6 separate regions of the Homo sapiens genome follow, and all the other regions are linked to region 1. Evidence: promoter capture Hi-C in 16 types of primary human blood cells and fetal thymus (Javierre and others, 2016). All regions are on one chromosome and are shown on one strand. Each heading gives the region's core, a stretch centred on a gene start or on the middle of the fragment in contact. The rest is flanking DNA. Distances are from core to core; before and after follow the strand shown. Region 1 holds the start of YPEL5 (yippee like 5). Region 2 holds the start of SPAST (spastin). Region 3 has its middle 86 kb from the start of XDH. Region 4 has its middle 42 kb from the start of EHD3. Region 5 overlaps EHD3 (EH domain containing 3). Region 6 has its middle 4.3 kb from the start of EHD3.

Region 1 (3,003 bases), core at 298-2,797:
TTTACTTCTTACCTAACCCAGTACAAGTATGCGATAAACTTTCAGGAAACGAATTCACCAAAGCACTTCACTTCTGGCATGAATATGTACCCTGGGAACACCACAGGCCTTTTGGTTCCTCTTTGGTGGAATGCAGCTGCGACGCTCTATATGTGGCTATGCAAAGTTAGCTAATATCCTACTCCTCCCAGTTTCTTCACCACCAAGTCTACTAATTTTCCAAAAACACAAGGTTAGCCCGAAGTTACTTCAGGTTTTCCATCTGTCAAGACGACGTAGAATAAAAATCCTCAGATTACCAACAGATCTCTGTAAACAGAAAAAGTTTAAAAATAAATGAGCTGTACAGCTTCCCAGACTCTCCCTTGAAAGGGAGATTAGTTGGTATCAGGATTAAACAGATCTTTGTAGTATTTCAATTTCCCACTCCCGCTGATCCGGACACTCATTTGTCCCATCTACCTGCAGAGAAGGTACAGGAAAGGGGTTGCAAGGGCACGCCCACCCTCCCGACTGCAAGCGGAGGGAAGGCCGCAGCCCGAAGCTGGCGGAGCTGGGCCGGCCCGGGCGACCCCCGGGTGGGCTCACCCGGCAGCCGCAGTGGGGCCCGCGAGCGCCCCCGCCGGCCCAGCTGATGGAGGCCACGTGACGCCAGCCGGCCAATCGGGAGGGACCGGGGCGGCAGAGCGCGGCGGCGGCGGTGGCGGCGGGGCCTCCCTCGGCACAACAAACACGAGCAGGAAACAGCTGAGCGGGTGGCCGGGGGGCTCTCTTGGTCCCGACACCCGGCGGGCTGCCCAACCGTCACCCTGCGCTGTCAGTCCCGGGTCCTCTGGGCAGGAGGGCGGGGGAGGCGGACGTTCATGGGGGGGAGGGGGCAAAGGGAGACACCGCCCCAGCCCGGTGGCTGGGCCGCTTGGGCCGGGCGTGGGCCCTGCTCAGGACGGTTCACGCCGTGCGGTCATCGCGGCCCAAACAACTCGGTCAAGTTCCGACTTGGATTCGGGGCGGAGACCGGGCGCGCCCCCGACTATGCGACGGGTGGGGGCGGGGCAGCCGCGGCGCGGCGCGGCGGGTTGGGGGTCGCGGCCAGACCGTCCGCCCAGGGGGCGCCGTGGGCCTCGGCGGCGGGCCTCGGAGGACGCGACGGGGAAACGGGGCGGAGGCGCGGGCGCCGCGCGGAGGGGTTGCGGCTGTTGTCGCACCGGTCGCCCGGCTGCGCGGCGGGGGCGGGCCGACGGCGGCCGCCGCGCCAGGCCTCACAAAGAGCAAACAGCCCCGCGCGTCCGCCCGCGGTCCCAGCGCCGGGGCCCACCCTGAAGGATCTGGGGCGGCCGCTCTGGGACCCCGGGAAGAGCGCGGCGAGGAAGAGGCACTTCCTGCCTGGGCCCCCCACCCTGGGCCGATTCCCGAGTGCCTCGAAGCCGCCCGACCCGAACGGGCGCCTCAGTCCCCACCGGCCCCGAGTCCAGCCCCTCCCGCGGGACTCACCCTGAGCGGCGGTGAGATCCGCGGCTGCCAGCGGCTTGTCGCTCTTCAGCTGGTATGAAGCCCCTCGGCCACCCGAGTCTCCAGGTTTAGTCAGGCCCTGGCCTTGGCCCCGCCTCTCCCTGGTTGGGCCTCAACGTCAGTCACCCGGCGTGGCTCCGCCCCCCCGCAGTCAGCTCTCCCGGTTGGCCCAGAACGCCCTTTATTTCTAGGCCCCGCCCCTGTCCTCGGCCTCCTGCCTTTTTCGCGGGGCCCCGCCCCTTCTCTGGCTCACCCTCCCCCACTCCCGCACCCCTCCGCTTCGCGGCCCACCCCTCTCAGAAGCCGCAGACCCAGGGCAGGCTTGCGACAGCTCGCCCCGCCCCTGACCCAGCACCTCGGACTCGTACAGCCAATCAAAGAGGCTAACTCTGCCCCTTCTCTCGAGGCGGCCAATGTAGTCAGTCTGGGGACCCACCTCCCCCTTTCAGCTGAGCGCACACAACACAGCATCCACGTGAGTCAGCTTCTTAAAGGCGAAGGCTTGGCCTGTCTAATTGCGGCAGCTGCGAGACATCGCACGTCATTAGCGTCACCAGGTAGCGGCTGGAGCCGAGCTTCCTGATACCTAGTGAGCCGCGGTGATGACAAATGAAAACAATAAGCTGTTTCCTAGACAAACAGCTGCCTAGGTAACTAAAGTGCACCGTGTAATTCGTTTCTTGGAGGCCGTTTCCCCGACCACCCCTGGTAGAGGGCTGCCTTTTGCTTTCAAACCCCTAGCCCTCGAGTCTAAGCGCATAGGCACTCCTAAGAAACATCTGTGGATACAGGATTTTTCAACTGCGCTTGACTTTATTTACAACTCATTTGAATGTTTTTTCTGGGTAGTGGAAATGATTCTCAAAAAGATGAAGAAATTCAGTCTTCTATATGGCGAATTTCTGCCTCAGAGAGTGAGATTTGTTCATTGCAAAGAGCAGCTGTTCCCTTAACCCTTATCAATGCTTAAGATGGAAGATGTTGCTTCTCATTCCATTAGAGTTGCCCAGGTACTTACATCTCTGTTAGCTGACTTTCGGGATAAAACCAAAATATTTGATGACGCATACCTCTCAGATTAAAAATGTAGGTTAGCATTTGGGGCTAGTTTGCAACATGTTTAAAGTCATTATTGGTGGAAGAGAAGCTGCTAAGCAAATTCTAGCACTTGACTCCCGCTCATCCCCAAATCCACAAGTATTTTCATTTAGTTCGTCTGAAGTTTACCTGAGCATCAAAGGCAAAAGGACTAGTTATCTTTTAATAAGTGAGTTTTCCAGGAGATAAGTTTTTTTGTTTGTTTGTTTCAGACGGAGTCTTGCTCTGTCGCCCAGGCTCGAGTGCAGTGGCATGATCTTGGCTCACTGCAACCTCCGCCTCCCGGGTTCAAGCAATTCTCCTGCCTCTGCCTCCTGAGTAGCTGGAATTACAGGCGCACACCACCACGCCCGGCTAATTTTTGTATTTTTAGTAGAGACGGGGTTTCACCATATT
Region 2 (3,003 bases), core at 293-2,792, 1.9 Mb before region 1:
CAGTGAGCCGAGACTGCACCATTGCACTCCAGCTTGGGCGACAGGGCGAGATTCCGTCTCAAAAAAAAAAAAAAGTTAGCTTAAAAGAAACCCGAAAGATGTAGTATCCTTGCTTTCATTCAGAAACATACATAGTTGTTTTAGGTTTTACTGTAAAGTGGTATGTTTAAGTTTACGCAATCCATTCATCAAACATTTCAACTTGGAAATTAAAGGCTACTTTGGAATACTGTTTTAATTAAAATCAAAGCAACAGGGGGAAAAGTTTTATGCTAAATATAACTTCATTGAAAAAGTATTCAGGAATCGTTGTACTGATAAAATGATTATCTTGATTAAAATGATGCAAATTCAACTGCAGTCATATGCAGCTATTTCTTTCAAAATTGTCACCATTTGTTCTTTTTTTCTGACACTACAATACTCTGCTTTCATTAAAAGCCAGTAAGGCGGCACTGCTTCTTCAATATCAAAACCTTTTGGAAACCTTGGTTCAGAGGAAGCTGCACACTCTTCACAGTGCTAGAAAGGATCAGTGTGGTCACTCTAGGACAAATGTCACTGTCATCAACACGTCTGGGTGTCTCATAGTGACCTGGGTCATGCAGAAGTGTGGGGGAAGGCTGGTGTCTGAAACAAAGTCGACAGCTACAGTGCCCTGAAAGGGGAGAGGTTTTAAGAATACTAGAAGATGAGGCTCCGACCTACGGGAAAGCAGTCTCCCGGGGCATATCAATTCCGGGGGTGCACCGTCCCCTCCCGCAGAAAAGGGACGCAGGTGTTGCCCTCCCCCGGCGACCCCACCGCCTTCTTCCCGGCGCCGCCGCCCCCTCCCCCAGCCCCCTAGTTACCTTTCTCATCCTCATCGATGCGCAGGGCAATGGAGATGTACTCGAAGGCCTGTTTGTGGAAGACTCGGACGCGCTCGGCCTCGCCGCCCGGCACCGGCGCCGGGGCCGAGGCCGAGGCAGGTGCTGGCGCGGCCCCGGAGCTCCTCTTGGCTGCCATGAGGGCGCGGGAGAAGCGCTGGCAGAGCCACACGAAGAGGAGCCCCAGGTGGAAGGCGACCAAACGCAGCAGCGCGAAGCCTACAAACAGCGGGTAGGAGAAATAGTACAGGTTCCGCTTATGCGGCGACTCGGGCGGAGGGGCCGGCCCGGCGGCGGGAGGGGCGGGGGCCAGGCAAGGGGGCGGAGGCCTGGGAGGCACCGGGTTGCTGGCGCCGCCGGAGCCTTTCTTCTTCCCTCGTCCACCCGGAGAATTCATTCACAGCTCTCACTGCCGCCGCCGCCATAACCCGCCTCCCGCAGACCGACGGGAACCAAGCGACGGCGGCAGCCACTGCTACGGCGGGGGCCACAGACCCCCGTGTGCCCGCCGGTCTCAGGAGCTCCGCACTGCCGCACGCTGCCCGCCGGCCCCGCCCCTTTCTCCTTCCTCGGCCAGGAGCACAACCCCTTCTCCTCCTGCAGTCGGTGGCTCGGGCCCCTCCCTTCCTGTCGCTGTCCTCTCCGCCGCCTGGTGGCTCCCAGCGGCGGCCGCGCACGCGCACGTCTTCCCGTGTTTTTCTCCGGCGCGCGCGCGCACGGCGCGTCTTTGTTGACCGGGGCCCCTGTACGCGTGTGCGGCCCCCGCCTCTCGGCTTTCCCACTCAACTACAGTTCCCAATGTGCAGTTCGGCTCACGTCGGCAGCCCTGGAGAGCTCCTGCCAGGAAGCCTTCGTAATCGATCCACGGAAGGGGGAATTGCGGCTTGGGGTCGCTCTGCTGGTTCGCTAGGCTCCTCTCTCAGTGTCGTCGTTTTCTTAGATTTCTTTCATCTTTTTCTGCCAGGCGACCTAAGTCTTCTCCGAAGGATAATTGGCCCATCTCAGAAGCAATGGATATCAATCTGGGAATTAAATTAGCCGGGCGTGGGGGCGCGCGCCTGTAGTCCCAGCTGGTTGGAAGGCTAAGGCCGGAGAATCGCTTGAACTCGGGAGGCAGAGGCTGCAAGTGAGCTGAGATCGCGCCACTGCACTCCAGCCTGGGCGACAGAGCGAGACTCCGTCTCCAGAAAAAATAAAATAAAAATTTAAAATCTGGGAATTATTTGAGAGGAAAGCAATTGTGAAGATAAGAAACTTCAGGTCACTGCAAACAACAGCAACAAAAATGTTAGCTCAGTGTGATGAGATCAACTAACCCAGGGGTTTAACTAAATTAGTGCATATTTAGATGTCTAATATGAAAGATAATTTATTTGAATAAGGGAAATCTTAGGTTTTGCATAGTTACCATCCCATAGTTTACTGAAGAATCTACACTTTTTTTTTAATCTACTCAGCATCCCTTCCTTTGGGAAACTACCTGCTTGTCTCTGCTCCCTGTATTCTAATGAGCTGCAAGCACAGAACCCAGACCGCAAAGGCGGAAGCAAACACTAGGTCAGTCAGATTCTCCTGGGACCTGGAATCTTGGCTGGAGACCCACCGAATAGAAAGTAACTGGAAACGAGTGCTCTTAAGAGCGGGTTTATCAATGCATCACATTGAGCTCCCCCAGAGCTGCTGGGTTCCTGACTGGTCACTTGGTTATGTAATCTATCCAATACACTAATCAGTCTGTTTCTCTGTTTCTCTCTTCCTCTCTCCTTTCCCCCTTCCTTCCTTTCGTCTTTTCCTCTCTCTCCCTCTCTCTCTATCTCCACGTCTTTTTTCTCTTCTCTTTCTCTTTTTACTTGAGTTAGCCATAATTATTTCTTGTTTCCTAAAACTAAGGAAGCCAAACTGATAAAAAGACTCCGTTATTTACAATGTGAGGTTTCCAAATGCCCCATGAGAGCTTCCAGCTTCCAAGAATCTCCACATTCTGCCACAGCTTTATTTTTTTATTTTTTGGACAGGGTTTCACTCCATTGCCCAGGCTGGAGTGCAGTGGCGCAAACAACATGACTCACTGCAACCTCCACCTCCCTGGCTCAGGTGATCCTTCCACCTCAGCCTCCCGAGTAGCTGGGATCAC
Region 3 (3,003 bases), core at 504-3,003, 1.2 Mb before region 1:
TGATGGCTGGTCACAGCTTAGGATGTGTCTGATGATCAATCCAGTTTGGCATAGCTGTTTCTCCAGGAGGTTAATGATCAGGTCCAATAGAAACAGCTGAGATCAAATGCAGCTGGTTTTACAATTTGGCCCAGTTTAATAGATCAGATTCCATCTGGGTGTGTACGTGACTGGGGTCCAACTCCTCATGCCTTCCTGGCTTTTTTGATACTTCTGACATAACCATCTCCATTTGGATTTTCTTTCTGACAGCAATGACTTTAACCTAAGACTCCAGATGCCAAAGCTTGAGCTCTTTCAATGGGGTGGTGCTGGCTCTTAATTTTTTGCATTACACACTTCAGTTGGCTTCTAGCCCTGGAGAGAACACACACACACTCACACACCCATCACAACCATCTCTCTACCTGTTCACTCTCTTCCATCCCTCCATCTTGGTCTCAGAATCCAGGGGAAAGGACATGCCTGGCTCATTGTCAGTAGAAAAGCACCTGCCTTAGGAATCAGACTCCCTGCTTCTCTTTCCAAACCCAGAACAGTCACTTCAGAGTGGGAGGCAGCTCCAGAAGGCGAGGGGGTTGGGAGGCATTGTTGATAATGGCCCAAAGGTCATTTCCTCCACACCCCAGGGAGTCCTGATTGTTGCTTAATGATAAGCCTTTCCCAGGGTACAGAATGTATGGCAGAATGTATGGGGTCTTGGACCCTTTCTCCATCCTCCTGAGAGCCATCAGTCTTATCAAGTGAAAGTATTCTTTGTCTTCTTGGAGTGGGCCAAGGGCTTCCTGCCAGGACCCTGTGTACTTTATAGGCCTTTGTGGATTGGTGACAATGGTCCCGTGGTGGTTCTGTAGTAGTGTGGAGCTCTGGGCTCTCCTATGCACTACTTTAATCTGGAAACACCCCCCATTCTCCATCCCCACTGCTGGGGGCCAGGAGTGCTGTGCCTCTGGGAGATGTGGCTGTAGTAAAGTTGTTGGTAATTTGTGGCCTTCAGCTGATGAGGAGATTGGCTTGCAAGGCACTCGGTATGCATGTTCCTAAGTCCCAAAATCAGGTTTTCTCCTTCCTCAACTATATATGCCATGTGTTCCTTTTAAAAGGCCAGATGCTGGGCTAAGCTAGGGGCTCAAGTGTAAAGAGCAAGGGCTGCCAGCAAACGCTCTACTCAGCTCCAGTATTTTCATAAGTTCTCTTCTCTTGGGAACATTACTCACCCTCTGAGCCTCAGTTTCCTCATTTGTAAGTGGAGGAGAATAAGACCTGTTGTCAGTGTGGTGAAGTTAAATGACATAGTCAATGAAAGGCACCCAGCACAGCCTGGGCAACATAGTGAGACCTCGTCTCTAAAAAAATTTTTAATTAGCCGTGTTCGGTGGTGTGCACCTGTAGTCCTAGCTCCTTGGGATGCTGAGGCGGGAGGATTTCTTGAGCCCAGGTGTTTGAGGCTGCAGTGCACCTCAAATCAGACCACTGCACTTCAGCCTAGGTAACAGAGAGCGACTGTCTCAAAAGGAAGAAAGAAAATAAAAGAAAACAAAGACACTCAGCACAGCATCTGACACCTGTTGTTAGGTGCTTAATAAATGTCAATACCTTGCTGTTCCAAGATTCTCCAAGCCTATGTACAACAATTTTGTAAATTTAGTGTCCAAACATGTTTATGCTATACACTTGTAGTAGACACTATTGCAAATCCTTTTCCTTGGCTGGGAGTTACTAGTTCCTCTAAATGTTGGCAGCTGACAGTACACATCTGCCTATTATCTTGAGAATTGCCCTCAGCTAAAACAGAAGTCCCCTCATCTGGGAGTTTATACCATCTTTTAAGGCTTTGCTTCTTGGGAACCACCCTATGACAGGATATATACCATTTTCTACTTGCATAACTTACTAACAAATCACATTCTTCCCTCCCTACTCTCTGGGTATTGTATGGCTGGGAATCCTCACTCTGCTATAATGTAATATGTGGCTGGGAATTCCCAATCTATTGGGAGCTGAGACCCAGTGTAGTGAGGTAAAGTGTGTGTGCTTGGTTGATCTTGACAATACGTTCAATTTCTCCGGAGCCTCAATCATTTTCCATAGCCACTTGCCCCATTCTCACAGTAGATAACATCCCTGGTCAAAGCATTATCAGTTTCCTCTATTGCTCCATCAAATGCTCCTCTTTTCTTGAGATAGCAATTGAGTAGCCACACACATGACCTGAGCTGTCTGCCTGGCCATTGTTGGCTCTTCATACTTTGTTTACCTAAGCTCTGAGAAAACTATGTGTATTGCTCAAAGGATTGCATAACATTTTAGAGTTGGAAGGGACAATCCCCAGTGGTCCTCAACTGGGGGTGATTTTACCTTTAGGGAACATTAGGCAATGTCTGGAAATCTCTTTGGTTGCTGCAACTCAGGGAGGGGTGGTGGCTCCTGGAATCAGGCAGGTAGAGTGCAGGGATGCCGCTAAACATCTTATATTGCACAGGGCAGCCCACTGCAACAAAGAATTATTCAGCCCAAAATGTCAGTAGAACTGAGGTGGAGAAAGCTGAGTCTAGCCTACCACCTGGATGGTGGGGAGGAGGCAACGGAGGATTCTGGAGGTGGCTGTGGCAGAATTAAAAGCCAAGTCTCCTTAGCTATTCTTTCTACTGATTTAGTTGTTTCATTACGATAACGTCGGTCCTTTGTAGTAAGTGTGCGATAGCAATCTCTCTACAAAATAGAAATTTTCTAGCGCAAGAACGTACCAAGAAATTCTTATTTGTAAATGGACACTCATACGGTATCCATTCCAGCATAGTGAATTACCCTCCCTGCAAAAGAATCATAAATGATGATATTTAACTTTGATATTTGCTTCTAATCCCTTATCAGAGCACATAATTATGTGTTTTGTTTGAACTATAGTTCCTTAACATCGTTCTATGTATTGGGGAAATTATACCCAGGAGTGGACTATCTGGTTTGTTAGTCATGTTTCAAATGTGTTTACAACCAGGTACA
Region 4 (3,003 bases), core at 169-2,668, 1.1 Mb before region 1:
ACATGATGATCTCAAAGCTTAGCCATGATGGAAGGTAGTTCTGAACAAGAGAACCGATGTGGGTTGCAGAGAAGGGGCTCACAGGAAAGGAAACCAAGGGCTCCCCAGATGAGCAGATAATTAATAAAATAATCAGGCCCCAAACCCCAGCTCAAAACATGAAACTCTCACCATGATATCCAGCAGTCATTGATTTTATTATTTTTTAATTTTATTTTGATGGGAAAGAAGGAGCCAGAGTGCCCAACTCCAGTGACCCAGAGCTCATGCCAGACAGTATTTCCTTTACTGCTACATATAGACATTGAAGTCCACCTGTACAGACAGAAAGGACCATGATTTCTTTCTTTTTTTAATTAATAAACATAATTTAAAAAAAAAATTTTTTTTTTTGAGACTGAGTCTTGCTGTTGTCGGCCCAGGCTGGAGTGCAATGGCACGATTTCAGCTCACTGCAACCTCTGCCTCCTAAGTTCCAGCAATTCTCCTGCCCCAGCCTCCCAAGTAGCTGAGATTACAGGCACCTGCCACCATGCCCTGCTGATTTTTGTACTTTTAGTAGTGGCGGGGTTTCACCATGTTGGCCAGGCTGGTCTGGAACTCTTGACCTCAGGTGATCCCCCTGCCTCAGCCTCCCAAAGTGCTGGGATTACAGGCGTGAGCCACCACACCTGGCCAACAAACATTACTTTTTAAAGCAATTTTAGGTTCACAGCAAAGTTGAACAGAAAGTACAGTGAGTTCCCATATATCCCTTGTACCCCACCCCACACAACTTTCCTCATTATCAACATCCCGCTCCAGAAAGCACATTTGTTGCAATAGAATCTACACTAACACATCACTGTCACCCAAAGCCACAGTTTACCCTAGGGTTCACTCTTAGTGTTGTACATTCTGTGGGTTTTGACAAATATATAATGACTAACTGCTTTTCAGATGCAATTCTTTGTGCATGTTTCAAAGGCATAATATTATAACGACTAGACAGTCATTGCTGGAAGATACTGCATCCAGAAGTAATTGGTCTGGACATGTGAGTGGCCAAGGACCGTCACAAGGAGACAGAACTTCATCAACTTCATCAGTGACTGTCTGAGATTTGGGGGGACATGATGATTTCCTGGGTCGTGTTCGGCCCCCAGATCCTGAGGTCTTGTAGCCTAGCCGTACACAATCAGGAACAGATTTCCAAAGGCATATTCTGTGAGGGGTGTTGCTTACAAACTCCAACCGCTAGGATCCTCACCACGAAGACCAGTTGGAATTCACTATGGCCAGGTTGTTATTCATTTAAAAGTATCTGCAGAGAATTCTTTTTCTCAAGACCTTTCAAAGATGGTAAAGTGATTGAGGATATGGAATAAGATCTTTGTGGTTTACTAAACTGTTAACTATTTATAGCATGTATTTATGTATATAATAAACTATATATAAGATACAATATGGGTTTGATATTAAATTTGACTCCTCTTCACTGAGGAACTGGTGAAACCTTAGTCTTGAGGTGAATGCGCCACAGTTCCCCGGGTATGTGCCAGGAAAGACACTGACAACTGGTCATGGAAACCGCACTGCTCTCCGACTCCTATCACCAGCAGTGTTCCAGGCCTGCTGCCAATCCATAGTCACTTTGATTTTGAAACCAGCTGTGGGTATCCTGACCCCCCTCAGGTCTTTTGTTGTCATCGTTCTTTGTCATCCACTGATCTTTTGTATCCTACAAGTCTGCAATTGAAACTGTCTCATCCTTGTCATTAGGGCTTTTAGATTGAATGTTAGAAAGTCTCAGTTTTTATATGCAGTTGTTCTAGGCTGCTGCTTAAGGGCAGTATCTTCATCAATTTCATTTCTAAGGAAGTGTCCCTCCCTTGAATGCTTGCTTTATGTAAAGCTGGGGCTGGAGCTGCACCTCAGGAAAGGATGCCTTCTCTCTCATCTGCCAACTTCTGTCTCTCTGAGCTGTGGCATGTCCTATAACAGGCGAGATTTGCCTTTTCTAAGAAAATAAGAAACTACAGGTGGAACAATCTGAGCAATGGTCTCATTCTGCACAGAATGAGCCCTGTGGTCCTTCTCATCATTCTGTAAGAATGACCCTCTGGCTGGAGCTGCCCAAGGGGTAACTTTGGGGCCACTTTCACAGGAGAAGTCCTGCACATTCCATGGCTCCATCTTCTCCCAGTGATTCAAAGTGGCCTGCCAAGGATCTGGTGCCATGTGGTACATATTTTCTGGCAAGACCACTGCACCTATTCACATGGTCAGCTAAGTAATCCCCAGCAGGCCATCCTCTGATTGGATTTGTCATCGAGCAATTGATTGTTCATTAATGCCAACAAGTATTTATTGAGCATAGACAGTGTTGCAGGTCATGTTCCCTGGGAAGCAGACTCTGAGATGGAGTTCATCATGCAAAACGTTTATTAGAGAGTGGCTTTGGCTTTACACTTGGGAAGGAAGAGAAGCAAGATTGGGCAGAGGGAGCAGTTGGGCTCTAATGCAATCACAAAGGCTCAGCTGACCCTATAAGGAGTTCTGAAGCTGGGATGTCCCTTCAGAACTGTTCCAGGTTGGGGCAAGGGGGCCAGACCTTCATATGCCCTCATTGATCAGTCATTGGGTACAGCTGCCCCTGGGAATGGGGTGTGACATAAGCAGTGAGGAGGCAGAACTCTGCAGGTGAGGGAAATTTCTGGAGACAGCTTGAAGTGGAGCAGCTGGATGAATAAGTCCTTTACCACTCAAAGGGGAGCTAGGGAAGTAGCAGGGTATGTATTGCTCTGTGCGAAGCATATTCTGTGCCCCTAAGAAGCTTATTATCTAGATAGGTGGAATTAAACAAGTGTGCAAGTGACAGTGTTATAAGGTGGCATCAGGCAGGTGGCACTTCCAAAGCTGTAGGGGTTTGCAGATGGCAGGGATGGTGGGAGTGGGGTGTCACATTTGCTTGGAGGAGATATTTGCACTGGGTCTTGGAGAATCCTAGCTTGAGGATTTTTG
Region 5 (3,003 bases), core at 212-2,711, 1.1 Mb before region 1:
AAGTAGCAGGCATCGATGGGGTGGGGGATGAGGATGAATGGAGCCAACGGAGCTAGGTTTAAAAAGCCTTTCCCCCACCCTGTGGCATCTAGTGAACACCCAGTGGGGTACATATTTAGGACGTGTGGAGGCACTGCCACAGGGGGTAGGGGGATGGGATCAGACGGTCGGGAAAACTTGCTGCCCTAAAGCTTCCTGGAGGACCCCTGTAATGTTTCCCTGGTGGCTGTAAGAGAATTCTAACAAACAAAGGAAGGTCAAACCCTCCTTTGGTTACCCGGATGCCAGTACTACTCCATTTTCAGCTCCTCTGTCTTTGGTAAATGAAGTGCTTCCAAGCATTCCCATTGCCATGTGATTTTCTCCAAGATCTGTCAGCTGCTCAATGAATATACAGCTCAACTAACACCTGAGCCTTCTCCCCCTGCTCCTGTGGCGTAGACCTATGAGGCTACGAGGAGCTTAGCCATCAATGGTCCAACTTCCTGATTTACAGATAGGGAAACTGAGGCTCAGGAAGGGGCAGAGCTGGCCCAGTATCTCCAGGTGCCATCCTGAGGATAGTTCCTGATGGGTGCGTCATCGAGGGCCTGGTGTGAACTAGATTTTGCCTTCTCTTTTGAACACAGGTGTCCTGTCTCGGCTCAGAGACAAGGCCCAGGAAAGTGCTTCAGAGGCTGCTCTGCCCAGTGGGCAGGGGCATCATCAACCCTCCCTCGGAGATGTTCACGCAAACTCTAGGAGTTAAGTGACTCAGCCAATACCACCCATGAGACACGACCCCTAGCCTCCAACTCGAAGTTCAGTGCTTGCTGCAGACGGTAAGATGTTCATGTCATTATCTCATGTCACCCTCACGACACGCTCTGAGGCAGGCAGCGCGAGGAGTATCGTTCTCACTTCCAGGGGAGGAAACTGAGGTTCAGAGAGGAGAGAGTCAAACAGTTGGCAAGTCGTGAGGCCAGATGACCCAGCTGTCAGCCATCCAGCCGTTCTGCACCTGGCCGCTCCCTGCCTCCCTCCCTCCCTCCCTGGCACGCAGGCACAGCCAGCTCCTCACTGGAGCCCGGGAAGCCTAAGCATTCCCACTTCAGGTGAAGCCTGCAGCCCGCACTACTCCCCTCCTTCCTACATCCCTCTGTCCATCCTTCCCTTCCCAGGGATGGCTCCAGCCTATTTTTATCTTCCCTTCAGCACAGCGCATGGCAAGGCTGCTGTCACCTCCCAAAGGCAGTCCCTCAGAGCTGTGGGTAGGGAGGGGCCAGAGGGCTAAGAAAATCCCCAACCCCCACCTCTGCAAACAGCTCACAGCAGGAGGGCAGTAGGGACCCTCCACAACTCCCTGCCAGGCCTCTGGCCTTCTGCTGCTCCTTATTCCCCAATCTGGATTTTAGCTGTGCCAGTGCAGGCCACAGGAGGGGCTGCTGGGAGGACCAAGACTGGGCTGCAGCTCCCTCTCACCTGTCCAGCAAATCTCAGCCCCAATATATTGGCTCAATGGCTCAGAACAGGCTAAGGCAGCCAGGGCAGCCAGTGTTGAGTCCTATGCTGACAAGGTAATGGAGGTTTATAGAGGGTGAGAGAAAGGCCCAAGGCCATGCAATGCTGGGGGTCAGAGCCAAGACCTGAACTCCAAACTCAACTCTTGCACTGTAGCCACGCCTCCACCAGGCTGGGGAAAACAAAGACACCAGAGAAGCTGCAGAGAAGGGAAGAGGCTCTGTCCCTGCAACTTGCTGCAATCCCTGATGACACCAGCGATGTAAGAGAAGGCTGTGTCTGCAAAGGCTGAGGGGCAGCAATATGTCCATGCTGCCAGAACAGGATAGACCCCTGCCTATCCCTGTCCCTGCCCTCAGTGGTCTTGTAGCATCATGCACGCTCCTGTTCTGCTCTTCAGCTCACTGAAATCATCCTCGGTGCACTGGGAGCTGGACAGGGCAGGGGCAGCACCTCACCCTTCTGGGCTTCCCCTGCACCCAGCACGGTGTGTGGCACACAGCAGGTGCACTATCAGTATTTGCTGAACGGAAGTGAAACGTGGAAAACGTGGAAACCTGTTCCACGTTTGGCATCTGGGAGACAGTAAATGAGTAATCTCTGGGCCTCAGTTTTATGGTTGAGGAATCAGTGACTCAGTCGTAGGGTTATTGTGAGGATCTAAACAAATCAGAGGATGCAGGTGAAACTGCTGAGCTGTGACCTTGGCTGTTCTCATTGCCCTGCTGTTTTTTGTAAAGCACTCCTTTTAAGCCCTAGTTTCTATGAGATGGGATGTGCTCTGTAGGAGTCACCAGAGGAGCACTGGCCTGGGTGAGTCCACCTCTCGTTTCCGCTTAGCCACTAACTTACTGTGTGTCCTTGGGCAAGAATCTCCCCTCTCTAGTCCTCTGTCTCTTTGCCTGTCAAATCAGGGGATTGAGCTGGACAACCTCCGAGCTTCCTTTCTCGGTTCACAATTCTCTGCATCTGAGACCAGAGGTGTGAGGGTGGGGAGTACAACAGGATGGATGGAGATTAGCTACAAGGGACCCTTTGCAGGCACAGCAAGAGAGAGAGGCTGCAGGCTGCTGTCTTACAGGCCTCGGGGATGCCTGTGTGAAGTCTGCCTCTGCCTGAGGACAGGCCAAGGGCTTCTGGGAACTCTTTCCGTGATTTTATAAGCAGAGGCCTCCTATTTGCTCTGGAAAGCTGCTATCCAATTACAGACTCAGTAATGCCAGAAGCTTCCAGCCAGGTGTGGCTGTGAAGACCATGACCATCAAGCAATGACTCCATGGGTTGCTCTGAAGCTCGACTTCCCTGCTCCTGGCTAACCCCGAGGCTGTGTCATCTGTAGGGTGGATATTTAGTTGTTCACTTGGCCTGGACTTAGGTGCAGATCTAGGAATGGCGGTATCTCAAAGGTATGGACTGGACCCAGTAAGAAAAAGGGTATGGTATAGGATTAGCTTTCTCATTTATTTGGCAAATCTGAACCTCAATTTTCTCAGCTGCAAAATA
Region 6 (3,003 bases), core at 181-2,680, 1.1 Mb before region 1:
TGTGAATTCTTTACAACATGATTGATAAATTCAATAATTGAGAGATATGATTGAAATCAAAATCTAAATAAGGTTTTCCATGGAAATTGACAAGGTGATTCTAAAATGTATAACTTATAGAGCAATAGTAAAAAAAAGCTTAGATATTCCAGGAGAAGAAAGAAGATAAGAAGAATAAGGAGGAGGAGAGGGAGAGGTGGAAGGGGAAGGAGGGCAGAAAAAGGAGAACAGAGAAGAGAAGAGGACAACAGTAACATAGCAATGGCAACAACTAAGCGAAGAGGACTTGCCCTAGTGGACATTGTTATGGAGTTACAGTGGTTAATATGGTTTTGGCACAGAGACCAACAGAATAACAACACAGTAAATAGCCAGGAAATTTGGAAGCCTGACATATACAGAAGTTGCAATAGAGATTGCATATATATCACCACAAAGTCAGGAAGAGTTCTTTAAACAAGACGTCAGAAGCACAAACTGAAAAATGAAAAAAACTAAGTTTAGCACTAGCAAAATTTAAAACTTTCGTTCAACTAAAAATACAAAAGTGAGTGAAAAGATATTTCCTATACACAAAAACCCATGAAAGCACATCCAGAATATAGAACTAATGGCTGTGCATCGATAACAAAGACAAACATTCCAATAGAAAAAAACTTGGCAAGAGCTACAAAAATGTCTTTTACAAGAGGCTACATGAATGCCCTATAAACGCAAGAAAACATGTTGCATCTCATTAGTAATTAGAGAAATGCCAAACCACACTAACACTCCATACCCACCAAAATGGCAAGAATAAAAAGTTGGATGGTAGGGTTGGTGAGGATGTAGAGCAATGGGAGCTCTCATAAAATGCTGATGGGCGTGCAGGCTGGCACAAATACTTTGGGAAACAGTTTGGCATTGCTTAGTGAAGCTGAAGATGTGCATGTCCTATGACCTATCTCCTTCCATTCTATTTCAAGGCGTGATCTAGAGAAACTCTTGCACATGTGCATAGGGAGATAAGTCTTAAGAATGTTGATGGCAACATTATTTGTAGCAGCAAAAATTTATAAACAACTAAATGTCCTTCACCGAGTAAATGGATAAATGTGCCACATTCATATAAAATATATACCACACTGGGGTCTAGTTGAGGGTGGAGGGTGGGAGGAAGGAGAGGAACAAAAAGCAAGAACTATTGGTTACTAGACTTAACACCTGGGTGATGAAATCATCTGTACAACAGACCTCCATGACACTAGTTTACCTATATAACAAACCTTCACATGTACCCCCGAACCTAAAATGAAAGTTACAAAAAATACATACTCTACAGATGAGAAAAATGAGGGAAGTGGTGCTACCTATGCCAAAATATGGTGTTGAGTGAATAAAGCCAGAAGTAGGCTATTATGCATAGAATCATACAATTTCATTAATGTTTCAGGTCATGCAAAAACCACTATCTGTTGTTCATGGATGCATATGTGTGCATTGAAGTTTTTAAAAAGAGAAGCAAAGGAACATAAAACACTAGTCAGGAATGGGGTGTTCTCTGGGACAAAAAAGGGAAATGGAATTGGGGATGGGTACACAGGGAGCTTCAGCTATATACTATATATACACTGTTTTCTTTCTTTTTCTTTTCCTTTTTTTTTTTTTTTTTTTTGGACATAGGGTCTTGCTCTGTCACCCAGGCTGGAGTGCAGTGGCGCCATCTTGGCCTACTGCAACCTCTACTTCCTGGGTTCAAGAGATTCTCAGCCTGCCTCAGCCTCGCAAGTAGCTGGGACTACAGGCATGAGCCACCACACCTGGCTAATTTTTGTATTTTTAGTAGAGATGGAGTTTCACCATGTTGGCCAGGCTATTATTCCTCAAATTTGATAGTGAATACTTGGCTGTTCATTTCTTATTCCTTTTATCCTTTATTTTAAAAAAAATCTGGTCCTTGGATGCACAAAGTTGGAATTTTTTTCATAACTGTGGTTCAAGACAAACTACACCTGGCTCCTTTATTATATTTTTAAAAAACTTAACACATGTTTTTGTAATGGACCCTTGATGAACCTATCATTCAAACCAAGGACTAGAAAAATTAGCAGCAATTTACATCTACTTATGTGCTCCTCCCCATCCTGTCTCCTGCCCCTTCTCCTTCTTTCTAGAGGGGACCCCTATCCTGAATCTACTGTGTGTTGTCCCCTTGCTTTTTAATTACGGTTATACACAAATGCAAGCCAAAAGAACATATTGTTGAAGTTTAGTGTTTTTGGACTTTTTCTAAAAAGCATATCCTGCTGCATGTAATGCCCCTGGAACTCGACTTTTCTTGCATTCAACATTTGTTTTCAGCCCCATCTGGCTCCACAGGGCCCTCTCCCACCAGGTGTCTCTTCCAAACCCAGCACATGCCTCCTATTTCTGTCACCTGCCAGGTGCATGGGGGTTCCCAGTCAGACAACCTGCAGTAGATGGAGTCCTGGTGTCCCCGTGTCTTTGCTGTGTGAGCTTGGGGAAAGTGGCTTCACTCTCAAGCCTTAGCACCCTGGTCTCTGAAATAAAGATGGCAATAGCATTTTTTCAGGATTAAAGGGACCGTGCATGTAAAGTGCCATTGAAAGTGTTCAGTATGTATTAGTTCTTAATATTATAATGATTATTACTTTTATCCACTACATGGCACTGCCTTATATCCTATTTAAGAAGCTGTTTAATAAACTATTGAATAAGCTTAGTATTTAATAGCTGTAATATTTAATAAGCTATTTAATATGCTGGCACCTAATAAGTTAGTGAGCAACTTCTTTCACTTCATTTGTGTCTTAACTGAGGATGGCTCATTGACTCAAAGGAATATAATTTTTAGTAGTGATATCTGTGGTGTTTGCTCTGGGTTCTTAGGGGTGACACTATGAAACAGAAGACTTTTCCATCTCTTCTGTTTCTCCCACTCAGATACTAACTCAGGCCGAACCCTCCTTAGCTTCCAAGATCAGATGAGATCGGGTGCATTCA

The links. Contacts are between HindIII fragments. The CHiCAGO score rates a contact against its expected background, and 5 or more counts as called.
Region 2: a contact is called between the fragment with the promoter of SPAST here and the fragment with the promoter of YPEL5 in region 1, in 2 of 17 cell types (neutrophils and non-activated CD4 T cells). The highest score is 9.6, in neutrophils.
Region 3: a contact is called between a fragment that was not itself captured here and the fragment with the promoter of YPEL5 in region 1, in 3 of 17 cell types (fetal thymus, naive B cells and total B cells). The highest score is 7.4, in fetal thymus.
Region 4: a contact is called between a fragment that was not itself captured here and the fragment with the promoter of YPEL5 in region 1, in 1 of 17 cell types (total B cells). The highest score is 6.0, in total B cells.
Region 5: a contact is called between a fragment that was not itself captured here and the fragment with the promoter of YPEL5 in region 1, in 1 of 17 cell types (total B cells). The highest score is 5.3, in total B cells.
Region 6: a fragment that was not itself captured here is called in contact with the fragment with the promoter of YPEL5 in region 1 in 10 of 17 cell types (total B cells, naive B cells, non-activated CD4 T cells and 7 more); the score reaches 12.4 in total B cells.

Annotation. Positions count from the first base shown.
Region 1 is chr2:30,145,551-30,148,553 of GRCh38, reverse strand. It overlaps YPEL5 (yippee like 5), which reads right to left and starts at 1,547. Exons shown (of 3, transcript NM_016061.3): 1 at 1,492-1,547. RefSeq lists silencers at 434-873, 1,164-1,333, 1,364-1,943. The HindIII fragment of the contact is 10,963 bases long and covers 1-3,003 here.
Region 2 is chr2:32,062,095-32,065,097 of GRCh38, reverse strand. It overlaps SPAST (spastin), which reads right to left and starts at 1,542. Exons shown (of 17, transcript NM_014946.4): 1 at 852-1,542. The coding sequence starts at 1,266. RefSeq lists silencers at 679-808, 839-1,258, 1,319-1,458 and enhancers at 830-1,630, 1,679-1,748. The HindIII fragment of the contact is 15,667 bases long and covers 1-3,003 here.
Region 3 is chr2:31,327,010-31,330,012 of GRCh38, reverse strand. No RefSeq gene overlaps it. Among named protein-coding and RNA genes, the nearest start is that of XDH, 86 kb to the left of the region's middle. The HindIII fragment of the contact is 2,930 bases long and covers 289-3,003 here.
Region 4 is chr2:31,274,784-31,277,786 of GRCh38, reverse strand. No RefSeq gene overlaps it. Among named protein-coding and RNA genes, the nearest start is that of EHD3, 42 kb to the right of the region's middle. The HindIII fragment of the contact is 2,798 bases long and covers 20-2,817 here.
Region 5 is chr2:31,255,474-31,258,476 of GRCh38, reverse strand. The region is part of intron 3 of EHD3 (EH domain containing 3); the gene reads right to left. LOC124905983 (a long non-coding RNA gene) reads left to right here. Exons shown (of 4, transcript XR_007086270.1): 2 at 630-821. Among named protein-coding and RNA genes, the nearest start is that of EHD3, 23 kb to the right of the region's middle. RefSeq lists enhancers at 1,308-1,357, 1,443-2,270. The HindIII fragment of the contact is 2,535 bases long and covers 194-2,728 here.
Region 6 is chr2:31,228,331-31,231,333 of GRCh38, reverse strand. It overlaps a transcript of CAPN14 not described here and the pseudogene RNA5SP90. Among named protein-coding and RNA genes, the nearest start is that of EHD3, 4.3 kb to the left of the region's middle. The HindIII fragment of the contact is 2,580 bases long and covers 141-2,720 here.